Linked DNA regions of Homo sapiens: regions 1, 2 and 3 are each linked to region 4. The links are contacts of gene promoters, found by promoter capture Hi-C in blood cells and fetal thymus (Javierre and others, 2016). All regions are on one chromosome and are shown on one strand. The core of a region is centred on a gene start or on the middle of the fragment in contact, and the rest is flanking DNA. Distances in the headings are between cores, read along the strand shown.

The links. The method cuts DNA at HindIII sites, captures the fragments that hold promoters and counts their contacts. A CHiCAGO score of 5 or more calls a contact.
Region 1: the fragment with the promoter of SIT1 here is called in contact with the fragment with the promoter of PIGO in region 4 in 6 of 17 cell types (neutrophils, non-activated CD4 T cells, M1 macrophages and 3 more); the score reaches 7.0 in neutrophils.
Region 2: a contact is called between a fragment that was not itself captured here and the fragment with the promoter of PIGO in region 4, in 1 of 17 cell types (M2 macrophages). The highest score is 5.5, in M2 macrophages.
Region 3: a fragment that was not itself captured here is called in contact with the fragment with the promoter of PIGO in region 4 in 1 of 17 cell types (megakaryocytes); the score reaches 5.5 in megakaryocytes.

The regions. Positions count from the first base shown.
Region 1 is chr9:35,649,481-35,652,180 of GRCh38, reverse strand. It overlaps SIT1 (signaling threshold regulating transmembrane adaptor 1), which reads left to right and starts at 1,250. Exons shown (of 5, transcript NM_014450.3): 1 at 1,250-1,427; 2 at 1,544-1,679; 3 at 1,766-1,824; 4 at 1,936-1,997; 5 at 2,100-2,700. The coding sequence starts at 1,328. The coding sequence ends at 2,333. RefSeq lists a silencer at 1,470-1,539 and an enhancer at 2,450-2,499. The HindIII fragment of the contact is 5,575 bases long and covers 1-2,501 here.
Region 2 is chr9:35,716,717-35,719,416 of GRCh38, reverse strand. TLN1 (talin 1) reads left to right here. Exons shown (of 57, transcript NM_006289.4): 16 at 135-343; 17 at 507-605; 18 at 1,631-1,798; 19 at 1,977-2,271. Among named protein-coding and RNA genes, the nearest start is that of MIR6852, 7.3 kb to the right of the region's middle. The HindIII fragment of the contact is 7,135 bases long and covers 1-2,700 here.
Region 3 is chr9:35,631,348-35,634,047 of GRCh38, reverse strand. It overlaps a transcript of CD72 not described here. Among named protein-coding and RNA genes, the nearest start is that of CD72, 14 kb to the right of the region's middle. The HindIII fragment of the contact is 1,338 bases long and covers 656-1,993 here.
Region 4 is chr9:35,095,341-35,098,170 of GRCh38, reverse strand. It overlaps PIGO (phosphatidylinositol glycan anchor biosynthesis class O), which reads left to right and starts at 1,580. Exons shown (of 11, transcript NM_032634.4): 1 at 1,580-2,016; 2 at 2,605-2,830. The coding sequence starts at 2,606. PIGO-AS1 (PIGO antisense RNA 1) reads right to left here and starts at 1,867. Exons shown (of 2, transcript NR_186491.1): 1 at 1,751-1,867; 2 at 27-411. RefSeq lists an enhancer at 1,574-1,913. The HindIII fragment of the contact is 7,045 bases long and covers 1-2,830 here.

The DNA of each region.
Region 1 (2,700 bases), core at 1-2,500, 550 kb before region 4:
GGCTCATGCCTGTAATTCCAGCACTTTGGGAGACCGAGGTGGGCAGGTTGCTTGAGGTCAGGAGTTGAGACCAGCCTGGCAACACAGGGAGACCTATCTCTACAAAAAATGAACTAGATTAGCTGGGTGTGGTGGCACATGCCTGTAGTCCTAGCTGCTTAGGTGGCTGAGATGGGAGGATCACTTGAGCCCGGGAGATCGTCAAGGCTGCAGTGAGCTGAGATTGTGTTACTGCACTCCAACCTGGGAGACAAAGTAAGACCCTGTCTCAAAAAAAATATAAAACTTAGATCCATAAAATATTTTTCAGGGAGGATAATTTTATCACTGATTTTTTTTTTCAGAATTTCTGGAACATGGTGATAATAAGAGGACTGATTTTTATTTTTTAAATTCTCTACAGACAATGCACCCCCTTATTGCCTGCAACTCAAGGGGCAGGACTTCTGCCATCCCTATTGTTGGCATGCCACTGCACTGATTTTAAACTTTTAAAAAATGTTGTATGGGCTAGACAAAACACATCTCTGACTTCTGGTCTCAGGTTTATATTTGCAACTTAAAATCCCTCTTCCTACATCAATAGCCTTGCACGTGATGGAGTTAGCTCTAGGTATGGCAGGTACTACACCCGCTGAAGTGAACATGTGCAAGATAGGGCTCAGTTTCCCAGGACAGTCCTACAGCAAAGAGTTTTAAAATGCAATTAATTATTGAGAGTGACAGTTCTTACAGACAGTTTGGATGAAGTGGGTTGAAAGGGGAGGTTTGGGGGTGTCCCCCAAATTATAATGCCCCCAATGAAACAATAACAAGCATCATCTAAACACATATCCTCTCAGATCAGCCTTAGGGTGTGATGGGATCAGAGGTACCAGGAGGCTCCCCCGACCCTTCCACTTTATACCATACTCATTGAGGAATACATCTTTCTTCTGGGACCAGAGTCAGGGAGGAAGGTGGGCATCCTGGAGCAGAAGGGGTGTTCCTGTCCTTGTTAGTCCTGCTTCACACCACTTCTGCCCCCACCCCCCGCCCTCAGAGTCCTCAGGGACTCAACTGCCCGTGGCACATTACCCACAGGCCTGCTTCTCTTCTCAAGGGGGGCAAAGGGCCTGGGCAGCGAGGGTGGGGGAAGCTCAGGAGCTGCAGGAGTGGCGCAGGTGCAGGCACAGGGCGGGGTCTTTGTTCTTTTTTTCATCCCTCCCCTCCCCCTTCCTCCCCGGAAACCAGAGACTTTGCCACCACCAGTATTGGGGATGCTGAGCTGCGGGGTACGGGCCTGAGGAGGGATGGGAGTAAGAAGTGCTGTGGAAACCGTCAGGCCATGAACCAGGCTGACCCTCGGCTCAGAGCAGTGTGCTTGTGGACTCTCACATCTGCAGCCATGAGCAGAGGCGACAACTGCACGGATCTACTCGCACTGGGTGAGCTGGGCAGGGCAGGGGCTGGTGGGGGAGGGGTCATGTGGCCCCAGGTCCCACCTGCTGGGCCCTGGGGGTGGGGCGGGGCTGTTACACCCCCCTTCCTTTCACATCCACAGGAATCCCCTCCATAACCCAGGCCTGGGGACTGTGGGTCCTCTTAGGGGCTGTGACGCTGCTATTTCTCATCTCGCTGGCTGCACACTTGTCCCAGTGGACCAGGGGCCGGAGCAGGAGCCATCCGGGGCAGGGACGGTGGGTGAAGGACAACAGGGATGGGTTGACTGAGAGTTCTCTCTTACCGAGAAGTCCCCACTCATCCCCTAAACTCTGCGTTGCAGCTCTGGAGAGTCTGTGGAAGAGGTCCCGCTGTATGGGAACCTGCATTATCTACAGACAGGTAGGGAGCTGGCAGAGAGGAGGGGCACAGAGGCCAGGTCCTGGGTGGCTGGGATGGGGGCGTGCAGGAGGAAGGACAAGTTGCTGACCAGATTCCTGTTCCCCGTCCCAGGACGGCTGTCTCAAGACCCAGAGCCAGACCAGCAGGATCCAACTCTTGGAGGCCCTGCCAGGGTGAGTCAACTGTGGCTGGAGAAAAGGGGGAGGGAAGGAAGTGGGGGGCTTTTCGGGCTTTTCCGAGGGTCCAGTGAACTTCTAACAGCCTTGCATCTCCAGGCTGCAGAGGAGGTGATGTGCTATACCAGCCTGCAGCTGCGGCCTCCTCAGGGTCGGATCCCCGGTCCTGGAACCCCCGTCAAGTACTCGGAGGTGGTGCTGGACTCTGAGCCAAAGTCCCAGGCCTCGGGCCCCGAGCCGGAGCTCTATGCCTCAGTATGTGCCCAGACCCGCAGGGCCCGGGCCTCCTTCCCGGATCAGGCCTATGCCAACAGCCAGCCTGCAGCCAGCTGAGATGGAGGGCCTGGCACAGCGGGGCGTGCACTGCCCCAGCCCCCCGTAGCAGGGGCATGACTGTTTCCCAACCAGCACCCAAAGACGGGCGCCATTGCCAAGTCACAGGATGTGATCTACCCCGGACTTCCTATCTGAGCTTCAAGGGAGACATCTCAGGGCAAAGCTTTCGTGATGGAGGAGGCAAAGACAGTAGCCCCCTCCTTATTTCTTTTTTCTATCTGTTCCTCTTAGCCCCCAAACTCCCAGGTTCTCACTTCCTTCTTCTGGAGTTTAACCAGATCCTCCCCACCCCCGCTCCCTCATAGTCTACCCCCACGCCTCAGTGTCTCCTCAGGCACAGGAAGTGGGCGGTGGGGGAGGGGTA
Region 2 (2,700 bases), core at 80-2,579, 620 kb before region 4:
CTGTGGAAGGGACTGTGTGTGTGCGTCTTTCTGTGGACATGTGTGTGACTAACTGGGTGTGACTTTGCTCCCTCCCCAGCCCTTCGTCTGGCCTGCCCTGTCTCTCATGTTCCTCTTTCTCCTTTTCCCCTTAGGGGACCCTGCTGAGACAGACTATACCGCAGTGGGCTGTGCAGTCACCACAATCTCCTCCAACCTGACGGAGATGTCCCGTGGGGTGAAGCTGCTGGCTGCCTTGCTGGAGGACGAAGGCGGCAGTGGTCGGCCCCTGTTGCAGGCAGCAAAGGGCCTTGCGGGAGCAGTGTCAGAACTGCTGCGCAGTGCCCAACCAGCCAGTGCTGAGGTCAGGGGCCACAGGTTTGGGTTAGGGTGGAGACAGGGTTCAAGCCCAAGGAGAAGGGGCAGTCCAAGCCACAGGATGGAAGCCTGGGTCCCGTGGGCCTGTGATATGCACAGGCATGTGGGCAGGGATTGGGCAGCTTCTGACTGGTGTTCACTCTCCACAGCCCCGTCAGAACCTGCTGCAAGCAGCTGGGAACGTGGGCCAGGCCAGTGGGGAGCTGTTGCAACAAATTGGGGAAAGTGATACTGACCCCCACTTCCAGGTTGGTGACTTACCCAACCCCCCAGAACCCCAGAATCTAGGAAGTAACTTCTGCTCGTGAATCCAGTTCCTAGTCCTGGCTTCTGTGAATTGACCCCTAAAAACCAATCTGAACCTCTATTTCCAGGGGATGATACTAGTAACTTCTGATCTCTCTTTTAGGGGTTAGAATTCAGAACCCCTGAATCCAAACTTAACCTGCTAGTTTACTCTTGGCCCTCATTTATTCTTTAGCCCCTTGTCATCTTTTCTCTCTCTTCCCCGTACATAGCCCTTGCCCCAATTTGAGGACCCCCCACAATGCTATAGACCATGCCACCCTGAGAATAGTGTTCCTCTAGCTCTCCCCCTTCCCGCTCCATGCCAATTTCCTCAGCTGACTTTTCACCCTGGATTTCCCATGCAGATATGTGCATCCAGAGGGGCTGGGGTTCGATCTCCCCCCGATTCCCCTACGGTAACAGCCTCTGGCCTGGGCCTTCCCAGCTTTGTCCTCTCTGAGCCGCATACACTCGTTTCTGTACTTCTTCCTCAGCCTCCTGGGGGACCAGAACTTGGTGGGAGATGAGGAGGCCTGGCGAAGCCAGGCTTTGGGAAATGGGATCAGGTAGGGTAGTACAGGGACTTGCTCCCAAGACTCCAGGATGACCACTTCCAATCCAAGATCAAGAAGTGGAGTAAAGAAGCTGGGGGTGGAGGGATCCCAGGAGATACCTCCTACCTCCTCTCCCCACCCCATTGTAACAGCGCCACCACATTGTCTCCCCGTCATCATCGAGTGTATCCGCCTCATGTGTGTCTCCATTTGGTGTAGGCTGTATTTTCTCTTGGTGTGGGTTTGTTCCTCGGTGGGGGTTCTGTCCTGCTGGGTGCTCAGGGCAGTAGCTCGGGGTAGGTTCTGGTTGCTTCTGCGTACACTCTCCTTTGATTGGATCAGTGGGAATAATGAAGCAGCTTACGCCTCTGAGAAGTGTCTGTGAATCCCAAGCCCAATCTCAGGTCATGCTAACTGCTGTTTTCTCACAGGATGCGCTAATGCAGCTCGCCAAAGCTGTGGCAAGTGCTGCAGCTGCCCTGGTCCTCAAGGCCAAGAGTGTGGCCCAGCGGACAGAGGACTCGGGACTTCAGACCCAAGTTATTGCTGCAGCAACACAGTGTGCCCTATCCACTTCCCAACTAGTGGCCTGTACTAAGGTGAGCCCCAAAGGTTGCTCTAGTCCGTGCTGAGGGGTAATACTACCACACACACGTGAGCCTTTCATTTTATTTCTTTGGCTCTGGAGGCCTCCTCACCCATCCCAGTTACTGCTATGAGCAGCATACTCTACCTCCTTTCCCTTGCCTACGTCTCTGACATTCACTTTACCTACAGGTGGTGGCACCTACAATCAGCTCACCTGTCTGCCAAGAGCAACTGGTGGAGGCTGGACGACTGGTAGCCAAAGCCGTGGAGGGCTGTGTGTCTGCCTCCCAGGCAGCTACAGAGGATGGGCAACTGTTGCGAGGGGTAGGAGCAGCAGCCACAGCTGTCACCCAGGCCCTAAATGAGCTGCTGCAGCATGTGAAAGCCCATGCCACAGGGGCTGGGCCTGCTGGCCGTTATGACCAGGCTACTGACACCATCCTAACCGTCACTGAGAACATCTTTAGCTCCATGGGTGATGCTGGTAAGACACGCACCCCCAGGAAAACAAAAAACCCTACCAGGGTTCCCTAAGCCCACTGGACATCATCCCCTTGCGGACCTAACCACTTCACCCCAAGGAACTCAGCACAGTGTGGGCTTGCCAGCCACACAACCATAGGCTCATCATTAAAGCTCTCTGAACCCTCTGCTTCCCCTTCTGTAAAAGGAATATTAAGTCCTCTACCTTCCCTGGAGCATTTAAAGAATATACCAAAGTACGCACAAAAATATATAGAAAGTGACATGAAAGTGGTATAGCCTTCCCTACTATACCCCTGACCCCAAAAGTTTTCAGAGAGTGTCTCATCTTCTCAAGGCTACTGGCTGAAAATACCCATTGGAGACTGTCCTTCTCCCGTAAGAACCCACTGGAGAATCTTTTTCTCCAAGATCCTAAACCCAGAAAAAA
Region 3 (2,700 bases), core at 75-2,574, 540 kb before region 4:
AATCTACCATTAAAAGACTGTCAGATTTTGTTATAAATCAAATTTAGGCACACATTACTTAAGAGAAACACACTTAAAGTGATAAAGTTTTAAAATAAAGACATGGAAAGAGATACCAGGCAAATATTAAATATTATTTTAAAAACCAGAGGCTATATACAGACAATCCCCGACTTAACAATGGTTTAACTTAGGATTCTTTGACTTTACGATGGGTTTATCAGGGTATTAAATGCATTTTCGACTAACATTACTTTCTACTTATGATGGGTTTTTCGGAACGTAGTCCCATCCTAAGTCAAGGAACATCTGTACTGATATCAAACAAGAGAAATTTAAGTTACGGGCTGGGGGAGGTGGGAGAAGACTTCCTGCAAAGGGATAGGAGGATTTTGGGAGAGATAGGAAGGTTTTGTATCTTAATTGTGGTGGTAATTACACAACTGAATACACTTGTCAAAACTCATAGGATTGTACACTTAAAATGGATCAATTTGTTGTATATAAATTACAATGCAATAAAACTGGTTTTTAAAAAAAGAATGAAAATACTATGTTCACAAAATAAAAATGTGAAATGAGAAAACAGCGTAACATGAGAAACTCTCTCAATTACCCTGTATCATATATTATACTGTCAAAAAGATAGCAAGCTTTAAACAACACACGCACAGGAAAAATAAAGGGAGCACTTATTTCAAGAAATTATGAAAAGAATAAGAAAAGAAATCAAATCAGAAAATAATAACTAAAGCTAACACTAATGAAATGAAAAAAAAAAAACAAAAAACAAAAATACTAAGAAGGCCCAGGCACAGTGGCTCATGCCTGTAATCCCAGCGCTTTGGGAAGCCAAGGCGGGAGAATCACTTGAGCTTAGGAGTTCGAAACCAGCCTGGGCAACATGGTGAAACCCCATCTCTGAAGAAAAAAAAAAAAAAGTACAAAAATTAGCCAGGCATGGTGGTGTACGCCTGTAGTCCCAGCTACTTGGGAGGCTGAGATGGGAGGTTAGATTGAGCCCAGGAGGTGGAGGTTGCAGTGAGCTGAGATTGCACCACTGCACTCCAGCCAGGGCAACAGAGCCACACCCTGTCTCAAAAAGAAAAAAAAAAAAAAACTAAAAAGGATAAATAAATCCAAAAAATTGTCTTTTAAAAGAGCTAATAAGGCTGGGCACAGTGGCTCGTGCCTGAAATCCCAGCACTTTGGTAGGCTGAGGCAGGCAGATCACCTGAGGTCAGGAGTTTGAGACCAGCCTGGCCAACACGGTGAAAACCTGTCTCTCCTAAAAAATACAAAAATTAGCAGGGTGCAGTGGCAGACACCTGTAACCCCAGCTACTTGGGAGGCTGAGGAAGGAGAATCGTTTGAACCCAGGAGGTAGAGGTTGCAGTGAGCCGAGATGGTGCCACTGCACTCCAGCCTGGGCGACAGAGTAAGGCTCCCTCTCGAAAAAAAAAAAAAAGCTAATAAAATAAACCTCTTGCAAGCCAAATTAAAGGGGGAAAAAGAGAGAAAGATTAAATAGACAAGATTAGTTATGAGAAAGAAAACATTCTTACAAATAGAGGAGAAGGCCGGGCACAGTGGCTCAAGCCTGTAATCCCAGCACTTTGGGAGGCCGAGGCGGGCGCATCACGAGGTCAGGAGGTCAAGACCATCCTGGCTAACACGGTGAAACCCCGTCTCTACTAAAAATACAAAAAATTAGGCGTGGTGGTGGGCACCTGTAATCCCAGCTACTCGGGAGGCTGAGGCAGAATGGCGTGAACCCGGAAGACGGAGCTTGCAGTGAGCCGAGATCGCGCCACTGCACTCCAGCCTGGGTGACAGAGCGATACTCCGTCTCAAAAAAAAAAAAAGAGGAGAAAATTGAAGAATTATAAAACAGTACAACTGAAAATCAACCAATTTGAAAATTTAGAGGAAATGGATATCTTTCAAGAAATATATAAATTACCAAAATTGACCCAGGAGAAAGAGGAAAGCTTGAAGAGCCCAACTTATTTTAGAAAAGACTGCAATAGGAAGGTGATGAGAGACTCCTTTTGGGAAATACTGCATTCACATGGCACCAGATATGAGTTTTTTCTAACCTTAAATAATAATTTCTATGCCATTTATTTATTTTTATTTATTTATTTATTTATTTTGAGTGGAGTCTGGCTCTGTAGCCCAAGCTGGAGTGCAGTGGCTCGGCGATCTCGGCTCACTGCAAGCTCCGTCTCCCGGGTTCACGCCATTCTCCTGCCTCAGCCTCCCGAGTAGCTGGGATTACAGGTGCCCACCACCACGCCTAATTTTTTGTATTTTTAGTAGAGACGGGGTTTCACCGTGTTAGCCAGGATGGATCTCGATCTGCTGACGTCGTGATCCGCCCGCCTCGGCCTCCCAAAGTGTTGGGATTACAGGCGTGAGCCACCGCGCCCAGCCGTTCTATGCCGTTTAAACTGGTCAAGAGTATAGAAAACGAAGAAAGGCTCCAAGATTTAATTGTAAAGCTAGTACATCTTGATACTATTCCCAAAAAAACTCTAAGTAAAAAAGAAAAAGAGGAAAACTGCTTAAATATAATAAAGACTAGTTACTAAAACCTAAAAGCAAATATGGTTCTCAATGGTGAAACACTGAAACCACTTCAATTAAAATAAAAATTTAGACAGAAATGCCTGCTATTATCCTTATTATTTGACATAT
Region 4 (2,830 bases), core at 331-2,830:
GGATGAAGGTGGAAGAATAACTCAACTTTTTTTAAAAATTAACATATTCCTTTATTCGTTTGGTCAGTATGTGAACCTCAAATATATGCTAGGTGCTGAGGATATCATGAAGAAAACAGAATTCCCTGACCTCAATGAGCTCACATTCTACTCGGAGGGGATAAACCATAAATACGTGTAGAATTTCAGATGCTGATGAGTTGTGCTATGGAAGAAATTAAGGAAGTGAGGGGAAATTTTTCCAGGGGGTGTGGTGGTGGGAGGTGCTGAACTAGTAAAGTAGGGGATTGCAGGAAGCCTTGCTGATGTTACAGTTGAGCTTCAATATGAAGGTGATGGAGATCCATTTCGGCATCGGGAACTGAAGCTGACAGAGGAGATGGCAAATGCAAAGGTCCTGAGGCAGAACTGCTGTGGATGGAACAGAGTTAGGGAAGCAAAGAAGTGGCAGCTAGATGAATCAGAAGGGGAAGAGGCAGATAGTGTGCAGGGCCATGTAGAGCCAATGCAAGAACTTTTACTCTGAGATGAGAAACCAGTGGACGGGTTTTGTTTCTTTTTGAGACAGAGTCTTGCTCTGTTGCCTAGGCTGGAGTGCAGTAGCACGATCTCAGCTCACTGTAGCCTCTGCCTCCTGGCTTCAAGCAATTGTCCAGTCTCAGCCTCCTCAGTAGCTGGGACTACAGGTACACATCGCCACGCCTGGCTAAATTTTGTAATTTTTAGTAGAGTTGGGGTTTCAGCATGTTGGCCAGGCTGGTCTCCAATTCCTGACTTCAACTGATTCTCCAGCCTCAGCCTCCCAAAGTGCTGGGCTTACAGGTGTGAGTCATCGTGCCTGGCATTTTTTTTTTTTTTTTTGAGAGGGAGTCTTGCTCTGTTGCCCAGGCTGGAGTGCAGTGGTGCAATCTCGGCTCACTGCAACCTCTGCCTCCTGGGTTCGAGTGATTCTCCTGCCTCAGCCTCCCAGGTATCTGGGATCACAGGCGCCCGCCACCACTCCCGGGTAACTTTTGTATTTTCAGTAGAGACGGCGTTTCGTCATATTGGCCGGGCTGGTCTTGAACTCCTGACCTTAGGTGATCCACCTGCCTTGACCTCCCAAAGTGCTGGGATTACAGGTGTGAACCACTGGGCCCAGCCTCCCCTCCTCCACTCCGAAGGATTATTTGCTTAATTATTCAGTCGTAAGATTTAGTTACAGGCTTTGAAAGGAGGAGTAATGAAATCTCAGTTGGACTCAGCTAAGCAAAAAAGGGAAAATAAGTATTATCTCCATTTTACAGATGAGGTAATGCCTAATGATGACAATATGTGCGGCCAAGCTAGGATTCAAGTCAAGTTTGACTCCAGCAGCCGTGCTCTTAGTCGTAACCATGAATGGACAGTGGTTCCCTGAACTCTTCCTCCAGCTTGGTCCCCTGTCCCCAATTTTCAATTACTAAATATCCCATCAAACTGGGGCCAGCCCCACGCTCCTGGCCAAACTTCCACCGAGGTGCCGGCAGATGGCGATGGAGCCACCGACGGGCCACTCTGTCTGGCGCACGCATCTCTGTGCTGCCAGGTCGCAGGCGCCGCCGCCGCCGCACTTCCGGGTGCCATTGCAGGTGAGCCAGGGTCTCCCGAGAACCTCACCCCCCGGTATTCCCCTCACCCTGAAGTAAGGGAGTCTCCCTCTTCCCCTCAGCTCCTAACCAAGGTGCTCAGTACCGCGGCTAGGGTGCCCAGCGGGAGGCTGGGTAGTTACCGGAGGAGGCAGAGCCGGTCGCACGCCTGGGTCCCAGCGGAGGCCCAGTCGACTCTCGACCCGGGCCCCAGCCTCCTTGCGTGGCGAAGGTCGTGCCTCAGGTCTCCTGGCGAACCTGGCCGCCCGGAAGCGGAGAGTGACTCCTCCCCTTCGTCCCCTCGGTGCCCGCCAGGCGGCGCCGTCGGCTGGGCCCGGATTCCCCTGCGGCTTCGATCCCTTTCCACTGGGTATTGAGATTGGCGAGGGGAGAGGCGCAGAAACGGCGTGTAAGAGAGCCTGACTACCAATTGGAATAAGTTTCCCTCCTGACTGTTCACATGTACAGGCAGCATTAGCATTTCCTGCCTGTACATGTGAACGTTCCTATGCTCTACCCCTCGAAGATCCTGATTCAGTAGATCTGGGGTGGGACCTCATGAAACGGCGTCTCCCTCTGTTGTCCAGACTCTAGTGCAGTGGTTCAATCTCGGCTCACTGCAACCTCCGCCTCCCCGATTCAAGCGATTCTCCTGCGTCAGCCTCCCCAGTAGCTGAGACTACAGGTGCCCGCCACCCATTTTTGTATTTTTAGTAGGGACGGGGTTTCGCCATTTTGGCCAGGCTGGTCTCGAACTCCTCACCTCAGGTGATCCGCCCGCCTCGGCCTCCCAAAGTGCTGGGATTACAGGCGTGAGCCACCATGCCCAGCCTGGAAATAGGAGGAGAGTAATATTGCGAGGGGTTGGCTGTGAAATGGTTTATCTCCAGGAAGGTTTCCGGGAGGAAGTGATTCTAGCTGGGCTTGTATTCAGGGACCAGAATATCCACTGGTTCTTTGCCCCACAGTAATGAATTTACTTCCCCACCCCTATCAGGATGCAGAAAGCCTCAGTGTTGCTCTTCCTGGCCTGGGTCTGCTTCCTCTTCTACGCTGGCATTGCCCTCTTCACCAGTGGCTTCCTGCTCACCCGTTTGGAGCTCACCAACCATAGCAGCTGCCAAGAGCCCCCAGGCCCTGGGTCCCTGCCATGGGGGAGCCAAGGGAAACCTGGGGCCTGCTGGATGGCTTCCCGATTTTCGCGGGTTGTGTTGGTGCTGATA